Linked DNA regions of Homo sapiens: all the other regions are linked to region 1. The links are contacts of gene promoters, found by promoter capture Hi-C in blood cells and fetal thymus (Javierre and others, 2016). All regions are on one chromosome and are shown on one strand. The core of a region is centred on a gene start or on the middle of the fragment in contact, and the rest is flanking DNA. Distances in the headings are between cores, read along the strand shown. Region 1 holds the start of TRMT6 (tRNA methyltransferase 6 non-catalytic subunit). Region 2 overlaps SHLD1 (shieldin complex subunit 1). Region 3 has its middle 15 kb from the start of LRRN4. Region 4 overlaps SHLD1 (shieldin complex subunit 1). Region 5 overlaps CRLS1 (cardiolipin synthase 1).

Region 1 (2,725 bases), core at 97-2,596:
CAGCTATGATACAAGACCCAAATATTCTGCAGTTAAGTTTCTAATCTCTATCGCTTTTTAAGGTATACCATAATAGTTTAATAACTATTAAATATGGTTTACGTATACTAGACGCTCACAGGTTAAAAATAAGGACAGGTACTGTACCTGTTTACAAGTCCCCATTACAGAAATGAAAATAGGACAGGTAATTAACTCTATGAAAACTTATTTGCAGTATTTGAGACTTCTTATTATAGGGCAGGACAGGATGAACATAATTCTGGCCTGTGAGACACTAGGGATACATCATCATAGCTTCTTACATACAGTCAATCCTGCAGTGTCACATCCATTTTTTGTGCAGTTTTTCTGTAAATCCAAAACTGTTCTTATAAAATACACGTCTACTTAAAAATGATTCATATCCTAAGTATACAAGTAAATAAAGATATACCTGTACGCTGCAGTGCAATTCATTATCAAATACTCTACCCAAATCCTTACTTAAAAGGGGTTTAGTTAATAAAACAAGATAGTAACTAGAAAGTTCACGATTTAACGGCATGACAGGGCTCCAATAATTAGGCATTACACATTATGAAACTGATGCTCAAAGAAATTAAGCAAACCGATCAAGATCAAAGTTGTTTGTCGACAGTACAGAGATAAAACTTTCAGCCTCCCAAGCTGAGGCGCTCCTTCAACAACGCTGCGTGCCATACCCTTCTCAAACGAGACAATATGCTGAGAACAGTAACAAATTCAAAAAAACGTTAAGAAGTAGGACTGGAGAAAGAGTAAAAAGAAACAGTTGGGTACCTGTGCTTCTTCAAATACTACTTTATTTACATCTCCTAAGGCTAAAGTTCTTACTTGCTTGGGACAGAGGTCCCAAAGCTCTCCTAGTTCACAACTGGGCCGGCTCCAGGATACGCGCAGATCTGTCCGGCCGGATTCTCCCTCCCTCCCTCCCGTAGAGAAGCACCACGGGGCTAAGAGTCTCCGGGATCTTAGCTCCTCAGGCGACTCCTGCCAAGTCCGCAGTTCTCTTCAGCCGCAGCTTTCCTGTCGTCCCCGCGCGGTGCTGAACCCCATCTGTCTCAACGGCTCGGGAAACTCAGTTTCCCCACCGCAGCTTCCAGAAGGTGTCTGTAGCGCACAGCGCCGCAAAAATGCCTCAAGCGAAAATCAGGTCTTCCCCTAAATTCTTTTTTGGCGCTTCAGTGATCCAACTTCCGCTCAAAGAAGCGGCAAGACGAGAGGGGCGGGGCGGAGTGCAGCCAATCAAGGAGTTTGGCCAGACGGAAGCCGAGAGGCTTCCGGAAGCGGTCTTGAGGTCTGGGCCGGAAAGCGGAAGCGGCGTGCAACACGTGGGGGCGGTGCCGGTCGGAGGGCTCCTAGTGCGCCAGGTTGTGGGAAGTGAGGCTGGCGGTGGCGACAACCGAGGAGGAGGGGCGGGACGCCGTGGAGCACGGCGACCGGCTGAGCGTCATGGAGGGCTCAGGGGAGCAGCCGGGCCCACAACCACAGCATCCCGGAGACCACCGCATCCGCGACGGCGACTTCGTGGTGCTGAAACGTGAAGATGTGTTTAAAGCAGTACAAGTCCAGCGGAGAAAGTAAGTCAGATCGCTGATTTTAGGGGTCTCCCGCCCCCACCTTGTAGATACCCCCTCCCTCCAGGTTTCTCCACAGAATTCTTCCGCCAGGGTGCCATTCTTGGCTCTCTCGGTCCCCATTCCCCGCCCTCGTTGTCTCCTCGGGTCTTTCTGTCACAGAAGGCTTTTCCACCAGGATCCCGTCTTCGAACCTCATAATCTCCCTTAACCCTCCTGTTTTTCCCGGAGCCCCCTCCATGATTTCATATCTGGCCGTCCACCTTCAGCATCCTTTTCAGTCTTTCCACAGAGTTCCTTCCCCAGAATTCCATTCTTGGCCCTAGGGTGCCAATGCCTCCCTCTCCACACCCTAATCACCTGTCCTGAAGTTCTTTCCCTAGGACCTTGGGATCTTCACTGTCTTTCCAGAGACACCCCCTCCTTTCTTCACTTTAGGATCTCATCCTTGTCTCCAGAGTCTCCTTCAGGTTCCCCCTTTTTTTCCACCATAGATCCTCCTTCTTCCCTAATCCCCCAGTCAGGATCTATCCCACAAAAAATGAAACGTCTCCTACCTAGTCTGGCTTTCTATCCTCTTCTCTACCCAAGCAGGATACACAGAATAGATGAAGGAGACAATTCACCACAGAGTGTGGAATCACTTTGAGTTTCCCTCGTTTTACTCACCAAAGGATTCAACGCTGGGAAAATTGCTAAAAAGCAATTTGCTCAAGGCCTCAGAACTCCAAATTAGGTTTGGTTTGTGCACCTGCTGGCTAGTATCGCTCTGTTTTATAGAAGTAAAGAAGTGGGATTTTGATAACTTTCTGGAAGGGCTGGTGAGGTTGTTAAGTCCTAAGAGCTTATTAATGGTGAAAATTTATTGGGATATTTGGATTAATTTATCTGAGAAATACAACCACAGTGTTTTTGTTTTTGAGACGGAGTCTTGCTTTGTCACCCAGGCTTTAGGGCAGTAGTGCAATCTCGGCTCATTGCAGCCTCTGCCTCCGAGGTTCAAGCGATTCTCCTGCCTCAGCCTCCCTAGTGGCTGGGACTCTGGCACCATCACACTCGGCTAATCTTTTTTTTTTTTTTTTGTATTTTTAGTAGAGACGGGGTTTCACCATGTTGGCCAGGCTGAT
Region 2 (2,725 bases), core at 143-2,642, 120 kb after region 1:
ACCTCATTTAAATGAGTATTATTTCAACATTTCGGAAGTCCGAAATAATCTGTACACCAAACCCGAGTTGTGAGTTTACCTATATAATAAACCTGCACGTGTACCCCTCAACCTAAAATAAAAGTTAAGATATTAAAAAACAAATAAATATTTCAGGAGTCTAAAGCAAAACTGGGGACAAGCTCAGAGGAGTCTCGTGGAAAAAAAGTCAAAAAGGAGAGAAGCCGAGGAGTCTATTTTAGGACTGTTTTAGGAGTCTATTTTTAGGAGGAAAGAGCAAGAGTACTAGCACTGTATGGTGTATGCACCAGGAGCACAGCAGCCCAGGAGCTCCAGGTCAGGAGAAGGAGGACACGTCAGCCATGCAACACTGGCCAGTCACCGCATGGTTCCAGAAATGTAAGCAACAGCACAGCCTTGCACAACTGCTCAGATACCCTCTACCTGGAAAAGCAAATCTTCTGTTATAATTCTCAGGAGAGGACCAGGATTAATGGGATTTTAAGGTCTAAAATATGTTGGATACCTGCTTTTTTCCCCATTTATTTATTTATTTATTTATTTATTTATTTATTTATTTATTTATTTATTATTTTGATTTCCAGCTTTTAAGTTCAGGGGTACACATGCAGGCTGAGCAGGTTTGTATGATCCCTGCTTTCAGGATGAGACTGAGGATGATTATATTAGTAGACTGCATGGTTTTACCCCGGAAGAATACTTTTTTTTCGTGATTTGGAGCATAATGTATATACTAGCCAAACTAATCTTAAAAATTTAAGCCGTAGCTGGGTGTGATGACACATGCCTATAGTCCCAGCTATTCAGGAGACTGAGGCAGGTGGATCACTTGAGCCCAGGAGTTTGAGACCAACCCAGGCAACATAGCAAGATCCTGTCTCTAAAAAAGAAAATTAAATAAATAAAATTTAAGTGGTGAATAAGAGGAGCTGAGTTACAAATTATGGCTTACTATTTTCCAGCAAGACGTGAAAGCCCCGATCTTAATCCAAGTTACACCTTTGTATTTGGAGTAAAGAAAATCAAAGTGGCAACACGTGCAGTTCCACTCTGCCCGAGGAGCTTTTAACAATGTGGAGAAGTCTGTCTCCTGGATTCACTTCCATTATTCTCTAGAAATGAAGAGAGGCCCAGCGCAGAGGCTCATGCTTGTAATCCCAGCACTTTGGGAAGCCAAGGTGGGCAGATCACTTGAGGCCAGGAGTTTGAGACCAGCCTGGCCAACATGGTGAAACCCCATCGCTATTGAAAATACAAAAATTTGCTGGGCGCAGTGGTGCGCGCTTGTAATCCCAGCTACCTGCGAGGCTGAGGTGGGAGGATCACTTGAAGCAGGTAGGCGGAGGTTGCCAAGACAGCTGCACAGCATTCCAGCTTGGGCAAAAGAGCAAGGCTCCGTTTCAAAGAAAGAAATGAAAAGAAAGGGTGGGGAACACGGGGCAGAGAGCATGAAAGCACATGTATTATAGGAAAAGCCAAAGAAGAAAAAAAAATACAACAAAATAGTAAGAGCTTCCCTCTGTAGAAGGATTATGAGTGTTTACCTTTTTCTTCTTTGTGCTTTTTTCACATTTCACATTTCCTAATCTTCTACAATGAACATGTAAACAAGAAAATTGAGAGAGAGAGAGAGAGAGAGATCAAAGGGATTCGGCAACTGAAATGGAGACAACTCCAGGGAAGCAACACAACTACTGTCACTTAAAAGCGAATCTTTGCTGCTGCCTCAGGTAGGGCTTCTGTTCATCTTCCTGTTTCTTCAAGGCCACAGTCCATCACTTGTCCAGTATTTATTAAATGTTTGCCGGCCAGTCACCACATGGTTCCAGAAATGTAAGCAACAGCACAGCCTTTCATATCTCCTGAATGGAGATATGAAAGGTGGGCTGTTGGCTTCAACGAACTTGTGGTCAAGGAATATTCAAAAGAAATAAAATACGTAAAGTAGTATTAACCGCTAAACTATGCTCTTTTGATGATGGCTGTAAATTACAGCTTACAGAGAACAGAAGCTAGAGGTGCTATAAAGACTTCACTGAGCCAAGAAACCTGAGTTGACCCCCAAAGGAGGTGGGGAGTTGGATAAATGCTTATGGTTCTTCACAAAAAGACCATGGCTAGGCTGAAGTATCTCAACAGTTTCTTTTGGTAGGTAATAAAGTTCTGCTTAAAGACAATTAAATACTTGTGTGACCTTTAACCTTGGATCACTGTCATTTTCAATGGTCTGCACTGCTGTGGTGTTCCTTTTCTCATAAGCCAGCACGAAGCACCCACCTAGAGGTGAAGCACAGAAGGATGGTGACCAACTCTTCCTTAAATTATTGCAATGCCTTATTTTCAAACTGATTTTTTTTTACTTTTTATTAAATTATAACGTGCGTATATCAAAGTGCCTAATGCATAATGTAGTCCCTAAAAAATTAAATAAATAAATAAAATTTAAGCGGTAATAAGAGGAGCTGAGTTACAAATCATGGTATATAATATTCATGGTATACTAAATCATAAGCTCTATTAACTTTTACAAACTGAATATACCCAGTATAATCAGCACTGAGATCAAGAAACAGAACAGCACCAGAACCCCAGAAGACCTCCTTTTGCCTCCTTTCAACTATTACCTTCTAAGACTTACCACCATTCTAACACCTACATTGCTTTTTTTTTTTTTTTTTTAAGACGGAGTTTCACTCTTGTTGCC
Region 3 (2,725 bases), core at 84-2,583, 120 kb before region 1:
AAAAATAGTTTATCAGCTTATTTTCAAATAAGTGTGATGGTTTGTGTGACAGTTTGGATCATTGTTCAGCAAATATTTTCTCCCCTCTCCTCTCCTACCATGGGTGGCACATACTACCTGCCCACTTACTGTTGGACTTGGCCGTTTGACTTCCTTTGGCCCAGAGGCTGCCACTGTGCTTTTGCAATCCTTTTGCACTCCTGCCTCCACTGTGAGAACAGGATTCCCCAGGTCATCACCTGAGCCACTGAATGGAATCCATGTAGCAGATCTAAATGGAGTCCACAGCCTGGAGCCAAGCCGAGCTAGATCAGCTGACCCACAGACAATTTGTGTGGGAACAAATTCTTGTTATTGTAAGCCACTGAGTTCTGGAGCAGTGTGTTAAGCAGCATCATTGTGGAATAGCTGACTAATGCAGGATGAGATATCCCCAAAAAGGAGAATAAGAAATCTATCCCATTCTAGCGGTATCCTAAGACACAGCTGATGGCATTTCAGAGTGTGTCTTTCTCATCTTTATACCATCCTGTCTCCTGGTTTTTGTTTTTGTATTTTAATAAGCTATCTATTAAGCCATTTGAAATTCATGGAAATTGGCCAGGCACAGTGGCTCACGCCTGTAATCCCAGCACTTTGGGAGGCCAAGGCAGGTGGATCACCTGAGGTCAGGAGTTCAAGATCAGCCTGACCAACATGGAGAAACCCCATCTCTACTAAAAATACAAAAATTAGCCAGGCGAAGTGGAGCGCACCTGTAATCCCAGCTACTTGGGAGGCTGAGACAGGAGAATCACTTGAACCTGGGAGGTGGAGGTTGCAGTGAGCTGAGACCATGCCATTGTAGTCCTCCATTGATTACAGTCCATCTCCACCACAATCAGGTCAAGATATATCCCCGACTCAGGTGTAATAATCTGGGACCTTTGTATCATGCATGTGTTTTCTTCAGAGACTCCGGTGTCTCTCTGCCAACACAACCCCATTATTCCGGCCATGCCATCAGGTTAAATAATTTGCTGAATTTCAGGGTAGGTTGACAGGTTGCCATAGCAGTCAAATAGGCCCCAGGAGCAACAGGGATACCAAAATGGTAAGTGGCTTTGCAAACCAATGATAGAGCAAGTGAAATCAGCTCCCACCTCTCCAAAAAGCAGTCTCAACAATAATATAGCAAACATTTACATGGCTAAAAGAATTAGAAAACTCGTGTGTATTAAGGGCTATCACTTTTGTCTCCTATGAGTTCTCTCAATTCATCCCCTAGGTGAGGAAGGTATTATCAGCCCATTGTACAAAGTAGAAAACATGCAGTGGTGCACTGGTAAATGTTTACAACTCTGTGGACTGGGGAAACACTGATTTGCCAATTCCCATGGTATAAAGATTCCCACCACAGCCAACATGATGTCAGTGAACACAGAGTTGGGAAGAAATGCAAACATCCGTCTTTCCAGTGGGGATAAACCAGCTCCAGCACACATCGGAACTGTGCACAGAGAGGTCAAGCAACTTGTCAAAGTCACTCAGCTAGTATGTGGGAAGCAAGGATTTGTATGAAAATCTTCTGACTTGAGCTTGCTCCTCAACACTACTCTTGATTTCCCATGAGAAGGCAAGGCCTCCGGAGCCAAGGACCCTAGATAGTCTTTACTCGTGACAATGTCCTTGAGTTGATTTTTCTCAGAACATGTTTGAGTAAGACCTACAGAACTCCATAGACACTTTTTTCTTCCAATTACTTTACACTAGGTTTCAAATGCCAAAATAGTGAAAATTTCTGCTAAAAAGTTCTCAGATTCCCACTGTTGGTCCAATGTAACGTTTGCTTGCAAATCTGGGTGAGAGGTGGAGTTAAGAAGGGGAGGAAAGGGTTCTGCCTTTTTTCCCGACAAAGACGACACCAAACCAGAGGACTTTCCACCCCTACAACTGGTTGGCCCAACTCTCACTAGTGTGTGGCAATCGTTGGTGCCAAGTCCTACCAGAGAGAGGTGACTTTTCCTAAGGGACTGAGTTCTGTTTCTAGAGGCTGCATGAAATGTTTTTACCCTGACCTTTTCCTCCTTTTATAAGGTTCTTTTAATCAGGTAGACATCAGGAGAGCAAACAGGCAGCCAACACTTGGCAAGAACCTGCTGAATCCATTGCATGTAACTCAAGCAAAGTTCACCCTTTTAAGATAAGGGGCTGCACATGTTACTGTGTGTTGGGGTAAGAAACATACATGGGCACAGTTGGTCAGATATGAGACCACAGGGATTTGTGAGGCATGCCCTTAGTATTCATGATTATGGTTTTTGCTTTGTTTTGTTTGAGATGGGGTCTCATTCTGTCACCCAGGCTGGAGTGCAGCAGTGCCATCTCAGCTCACTGCAACCTCCACCTCTACGCTCAAGCAATCCTCCCACCTCAGCCTCCCAAGTAGCTGAGACCACAGGCACGCACCACCACACCTGGCTAATTTTTTGTGATTTTGGTAGAGACAGGGTTTCGCCATGTTGCCCAGACTGGTCTTGAACTCCTGAGCTCAGGAGATCCACTGGCCTCAGCCTCCCAAGGTGCTAGGGTTATAGGCATGAGCCACCGCACCCGGCCATTTATATATGGCATGAGCCACTGTGCCATACCTAAAATCAGCTGCTGCAGAACTAAAATGAGCAGATTGCAATTGTGGCCAACACCATTTTTTACCCAAAACCATTTTCCCATCTTCCTTGCTAAC
Region 4 (2,725 bases), core at 81-2,580, 100 kb after region 1:
CTCACTCTGTTACCTAAGCTAGAGCAGAGTGGCATGATCATAGATCACTGTAGCCTCGAAGTCCTAGGTTCAAGGGATCCTCCCACCTCAGCCTCCTGAGTAGCTAGAACTGCAGGCATGCACCACCATGATGCCCAGCTAATATTTAAAAATTTTTTGTAGAGATGGGGTCTCACCATGTTGGTCAGGCTGGTCTCAAACTCCTGGGCTTAAGTGATCCTCTGGCCTCAGGCTCCCAAGTAGCTGAGATTACAAATATGAGCCACCATTCCTGGATAGACATTCTTTATAGTTGTGGTTTAAGAAAGCTTTGGTTCCAATAATCTTTCCTGAAGATTTGTGTTGAAGCTCCCAGAGATCAGGTGGCATTCGGATGGCAGCCATGTTGATTTGTGCTGTGCTACAATGTCCCCCACTGTTAGAGAGCATGAGACGTCCATACTAGTTGGTCTGTGTGCTGTATTGTCCTCCTTGGCCAGCTGCCCCTGGAGACCACTCCTGCAAAGAAGCAAGGACCAGCCTTCCAAAGTGGCCCACTTGTCCCTCCCTTTCATACTCAATAATTATGGAGCATCGACCAGCCAAGGCACAGGTTCAGCTCAGTGAAGGATGGCCAAGTTCCAGGAGGCAATGCAGAGTAAAGCCGGATGAGAAGTAAAGCTGGGACTGGGCGCCAGGTGCGTTGGCTCATGCCTGTAATCCCAGCACTTTGGGAGGCCCAGGCAAGAAGATCGCGAGGTCAGGAGTTAGAGACCAGTCTGGCCAACATGGTGAAACCCTCGTCTCTACTAAAAATACAAAAATTAGCTGGGTGTGGTGGCACACACCTGTAATCCCAGCTACTCGGGAGGCTGAGGCAGGAGAATTGCTTGAACCCGGGAGGTGGAGGTTGCAGTGAGCCGAGATCACACCACTGCACTCCCACTTGGGCGACAGAGCAAGACTCCATCTCAAAAAAAAAAAAAAAAATTAAAACTAAAAAAAGCTGGAACTGGGAAGGCAAGTCATCCTCAGACAGACCAGGTCGAGGAAGAAAGTTACTTCAGGGAGGGGAAGCCCAGTGCTAGGTGCAGACATGAGAATGCCCAAGAGCCTAGTGAGAGGTGGTCTGGAAGGTGCAGAGAATCCTTACAAGAGAGGAAGAAATGGGGTTAGGCTCTGGAGGGCGTGGGGGCTAGACTAAGAAGCCAGGTAAACACTTCTGCTAACCTTTCAACTTCAGGCATTCCTTTCCATAAACGTGTGCTCTTACTAGAGGGACTGGTACTCAATAGAGTGACTGGAAAGTTTGCCCAGGACAGTCCTGGTTTAGGCCTGTTGTCTCAGTTAATTATTATTATTATTATTATTATTATTATTATTATTATTGAGACGGGGTCTTGCTGTGTTGCCCAGGCTGGTCTTGAATTCCTGGGCTCAGGTGATCCTCCTGCTCCGGCCTCCCAAAGTGCTGAGATTACAGGCATAAGCCATCACCCTAGCCTCAATGAATTTTTTTTTTTTTTTTTTTTTTTTGAGACGGAGTCTCGCTCTGTCGCCCAGGCCGGACTGCGGACTGCAGTGGCGGAATCTCGGCTCACTGCAAGCTCCGCTTCCCGGGTTCACGCCATTCTCCTGCCTCAGCCTCCCGAGTAGCTGGGACTACAGGCGCCCGCCACCGCGCCCGGCTAATTTTTTGTATTTTTAGTAGAGACGGGGTTTCACCTTGTTAGCCAGGATGGTCTCGATCTCCTGACCTCATGATCCACCCGCCTCGGCCTCCCAAAGTGCTGGGATTACAGGCGTGAGCCACCGCGCCCGGCCCCTCAATGAATTATTAATGGCACCCCTTTTCATTTTCTAGAGGGCCCTTGATCACACAATTCATTACATGTATACATGTATTATGACACATTATGCAACCTGGTGCTGGAGGAGTGGGGCTGATATACCTGGGTTAACAGTGGAAAGTTCCTACCACACAGTTATGTCCCAGAGGGCTGAGATTTGATGCTGGAAATCATCCCAGTCCATGTTATAAACAATAAGGTGTCTACAGACTTTTGTTTTTGGCTAAACCTCCACGGATTTGTCCTATGACACTCCAAGCCAATCCTCCTTTCCTTTTCCCTGTTTTCACCACTGGCATTTCTCCCACTTCCTAGCTGTACAAACCTTTTGGTTACTGTCCAGCAAGTGAATTGGCCCTGATTCACTCTGAACCATCGGCACCTCGCTGGAGTTCTCTTTCTGGTTTAGTCTGGCTTTTCCCTGCTGCGTCGTAACACCAGGGTTGGAGTTCTAGGGCACCTTACATCCTATCTTATTAGTTACATAAAATTAGTTACAGAAAAACAATAAACTTAAGCTTCCTTTTTCCTAATAGCAACCCTGCCTTCCACGATTCATATATTTTAGAATTTGCAACTGTTCCTTTAAAGGACAAAACCACATCCTCACAAAGTGAGAGTGTGTGGATATCAAGATATTTAATACAAATTAACATTTCAAAGGGATGGATGGTTTGGTCAGGTGCTTTTGAAACCACAGTCTCTGTACTTGTTTATATCTGAAAGTTCAAACTGGATGAATCACTCAGAGGGAAAGTGGCATATGCTATCACCCTTCATCCTAATGACACACAGATGCCATGAGCAGAGGACGCGGTCCTCTAAGAGGCCACCACGGAGGAATAAAATGAATGCCGGAAAAAAAACAAAGACAGGTGTGTTTAGTAAATAGTCCT
Region 5 (2,725 bases), core at 129-2,628, 86 kb before region 1:
GACTCTGTGAATCGGAAAACTTACGTAACAGCAGAGAATACGTATGTTATATGGAACAACCTGAGTTGAAGGTACAATTTTTTTTCCAGCTCTTTTATTCCTTTAACTGCTTAACAAAAGAAAGAGTCTCCAAAGTTTAAAAAACCTTTGAAAAATATACAGCTTGATATTATTTACATAAAATATGAATCCAGGTTCCAATATCAAACAAACATTGCTATGTCAGAAACACAGTGGAAGGCAGGAACGTAACTCACTGCCTTTTAGATGCAAAGACTAATAGACACGTTCTCCTATCTCGACTATCTTTGTTACCTGTTATCCTCAAACATAAATTATTAGGCACCTGAGAGGTTGGAAGACTACCGAAAATGAACTTCATACCTTCTGTATGATTATTATCTTAAAAAGTTACCGCATTTTTAATCTCTTTTATAACTTTACTTCATCTACAACTAACTTCACTTTCATTATCCCAAATGATCAGGTATTAATTACATGAACTGTTAATGTATACACAGACCTAAAAATCAAACAAAAATGTATTGCCCAGTTGTGTAGGATATATATTTGAACCCCATGACATTTCCTAGTGCTTTGTGAGCAATCCAAATTTCACTTAAAAGAGAGGTGTCAATTCTGCCCATGCTCTGGACTATGTTTTTAAAAAACATACAAAAAAGACTGACAATAATTGATCTCTTATAAATTAATCAAGAAACCTAAGATTAAAAATTCTAAATTACAATTTTATTTGTATTTAAAAATACATTGGAAATTCTGCATATTCCCATGATCAACCTTATTTTCAATGCACATTACTTAAATTTTGATGACACAGTTGATTCTGACAAGTCCTTTTTCAAGCTGAACACCAAAATAGGGAAACTCCTGTACATTTCCATGGGCCCTGTTCCCATTGATGTATACTGCTTCCTTACTAACAGTGAGGGATGACTTTCATCAGTCTTTTATCACCTGAACAGTCTTCCGGCCATAATGATAGTAACTATAAGCTGATGCAGCTGTGGTGAAAGCTGTAAAACACCTTTTATGGAAGAAAAGAAATAAAATGTAGTTGTCAAGTCTAAAAAATAGTAGCAACGGGAATCATAATGAATACATGCAATGAATTTAAAATGTAAAAATGAATTTAAAAAGTAAAAAGGGCTCTGTGGTGTAATTTTTCTTAACTACAAGAGTCTAAATACACTGCTTTTCTTTAAGAGTTCATTTTAATTAGTAACGTCAAACAAAATTATTCTAGATAATGAGCCCTACAAATTACTACTACTAGCAACTGTCATTTTTTACTCGGGCATCCTCTAGGTGTCTTACATTCTCATTTTATTCTTACAACGAACTCATCCTCCAGAAGGACTTCATCCTCCAGAAGGACTCATCCTCCAGAAGGACTCATCCTCCAAAGGACTTCTCCAGAAGGGGGAAATGGAAGACCCGGGTAACTTGCTCAGGGCTTATCACAGAACTATGTTTGAGCCTGACTTCGTTTGAACTCTAAAGCCCACATGCTCTTTCTACTGCCCCATGCTTCTCAGGGTACCAGACTCTTATTTCCTGCAGCTTTTGAGAATTCTAAAGATACCTGAGTCATTTTAAATAAATTTCAGCTTTCTTTACCAAACTACCCTTAACCGGATTCTCCTTGAAATGACATCACCTGACACCCATGGCATGCTGCATGCCCACAGCTAGATTACTTTTTAGTGCGCCCACGCACTTCTGCTTTTATTAGGTGAGGCAGAATCAAGATTCCCTTTTGTTGGATCTTGAACCTGTTCATGCCACTTTGATATTCTAAATTCATACATAAACCAATGAAATATATGTGTTAGAAAAATTGCTATTTCTAGCTGGACGCAGTGGCTCATGACTATAATCCTACCACTTTGGCAGGCCGAGGCAGGAGGATTGTTTGAGGCCAAGAGTTTGAGACCAGCCTGGGCAACATAGTGAGACCCTGTTTCTACAAAAAATAATAATACAAAAAATTAGTGGCTGGGCACAGTGGCTCACACCTGTAATCCCAGCACTTTGAGAGGCTGAGGCGGGTGGATCAACTGAGGCCAGGAGTTCGAGACCAGCCTGACCAACAAGGTGAAATCCCGCCTTTACTAAAAATACAAAAATTGGCCAGGTATGGTGGTGGGCGCCTGTAATCCCAGCTACTCAGGAGGCTGAGGCAGGAGAATCGCTTGAACCCGGGTGGTAGAGGTTGCAGTGAGCTGAGATCAGGCCATTGCACTCCAGCCTGGGCAACAGAGCGAGACTCTGTCTCAAAAATAAATAAATTAATTAATTAAAAAAAAATAGCCAGGTGTGGTGGTGGCACATGCCTGTAATCCCAGCTACTCAGGAGGCTGAAGCTGAAGGATCGCTTGAGGCCAGGAATTCAAGGTTACAGTGAGCTATGATCATGCCACTGTACTACAGGCTGGGTGACAGAGCAAGACCCTGTCTCCAAAAAAATAAAATAAAAATTTTTTTAATTGCTATTTCTGAAAACTACATTGGATGCTTTAGAAAGACTCAATAAAGGTGACTTGATTAAAAAAAAAATACTGTCTCTCTCTTCATGGGTTCCTAGGGGAAAAAAATACTGTCAAAATAAATAGACAAGATGATTGTGAAAAGACTAGGGAAAATATCTAAACAGTTCTTAGACTGCTTTGCAAATGTTTTAAGTTCTTGCATCACCTTAAAG

What was found. Contacts are between HindIII fragments. The CHiCAGO score rates a contact against its expected background, and 5 or more counts as called.
Region 2: a fragment that was not itself captured here is called in contact with the fragment with the promoter of TRMT6 in region 1 in 8 of 17 cell types (naive CD4 T cells, total CD8 T cells, naive CD8 T cells and 5 more); the score reaches 14.2 in naive CD4 T cells.
Region 3: a contact is called between a fragment that was not itself captured here and the fragment with the promoter of TRMT6 in region 1, in 1 of 17 cell types (megakaryocytes). The highest score is 6.2, in megakaryocytes.
Region 4: a contact is called between a fragment that was not itself captured here and the fragment with the promoter of TRMT6 in region 1, in 2 of 17 cell types (naive CD4 T cells and total CD8 T cells). The highest score is 5.5, in naive CD4 T cells.
Region 5: a fragment that was not itself captured here is called in contact with the fragment with the promoter of TRMT6 in region 1 in 1 of 17 cell types (naive CD4 T cells); the score reaches 6.6 in naive CD4 T cells.

Annotation. Positions count from the first base shown.
Region 1 is chr20:5,949,154-5,951,878 of GRCh38, reverse strand. It overlaps TRMT6 (tRNA methyltransferase 6 non-catalytic subunit), which reads left to right and starts at 1,346. Exons shown (of 11, transcript NM_015939.5): 1 at 1,346-1,601. The coding sequence starts at 1,474. It overlaps MCM8 (minichromosome maintenance 8 homologous recombination repair factor), which reads right to left and starts at 1,227. Exons shown (of 19, transcript NM_032485.6): 1 at 856-1,227. RefSeq lists an enhancer at 1,211-1,350. The HindIII fragment of the contact is 3,685 bases long and covers 1-2,725 here.
Region 2 is chr20:5,830,664-5,833,388 of GRCh38, reverse strand. The region is part of intron 2 of SHLD1 (shieldin complex subunit 1); the gene reads right to left. Among named protein-coding and RNA genes, the nearest start is that of CHGB, 79 kb to the left of the region's middle. The HindIII fragment of the contact is 5,167 bases long and covers 1-2,725 here.
Region 3 is chr20:6,067,361-6,070,085 of GRCh38, reverse strand. No RefSeq gene overlaps it. Among named protein-coding and RNA genes, the nearest start is that of LRRN4, 15 kb to the right of the region's middle. The HindIII fragment of the contact is 9,893 bases long and covers 1-2,725 here.
Region 4 is chr20:5,848,756-5,851,480 of GRCh38, reverse strand. The region is part of intron 2 of SHLD1 (shieldin complex subunit 1); the gene reads right to left. Among named protein-coding and RNA genes, the nearest start is that of CHGB, 61 kb to the left of the region's middle. The HindIII fragment of the contact is 2,039 bases long and covers 311-2,349 here.
Region 5 is chr20:6,035,397-6,038,121 of GRCh38, reverse strand. It overlaps CRLS1 (cardiolipin synthase 1), which reads right to left. Exons shown (of 7, transcript NM_019095.6): 7 at 1-1,048. The coding sequence ends at 964. Among named protein-coding and RNA genes, the nearest start is that of LRRN4, 17 kb to the left of the region's middle. The HindIII fragment of the contact is 4,678 bases long and covers 1-2,725 here.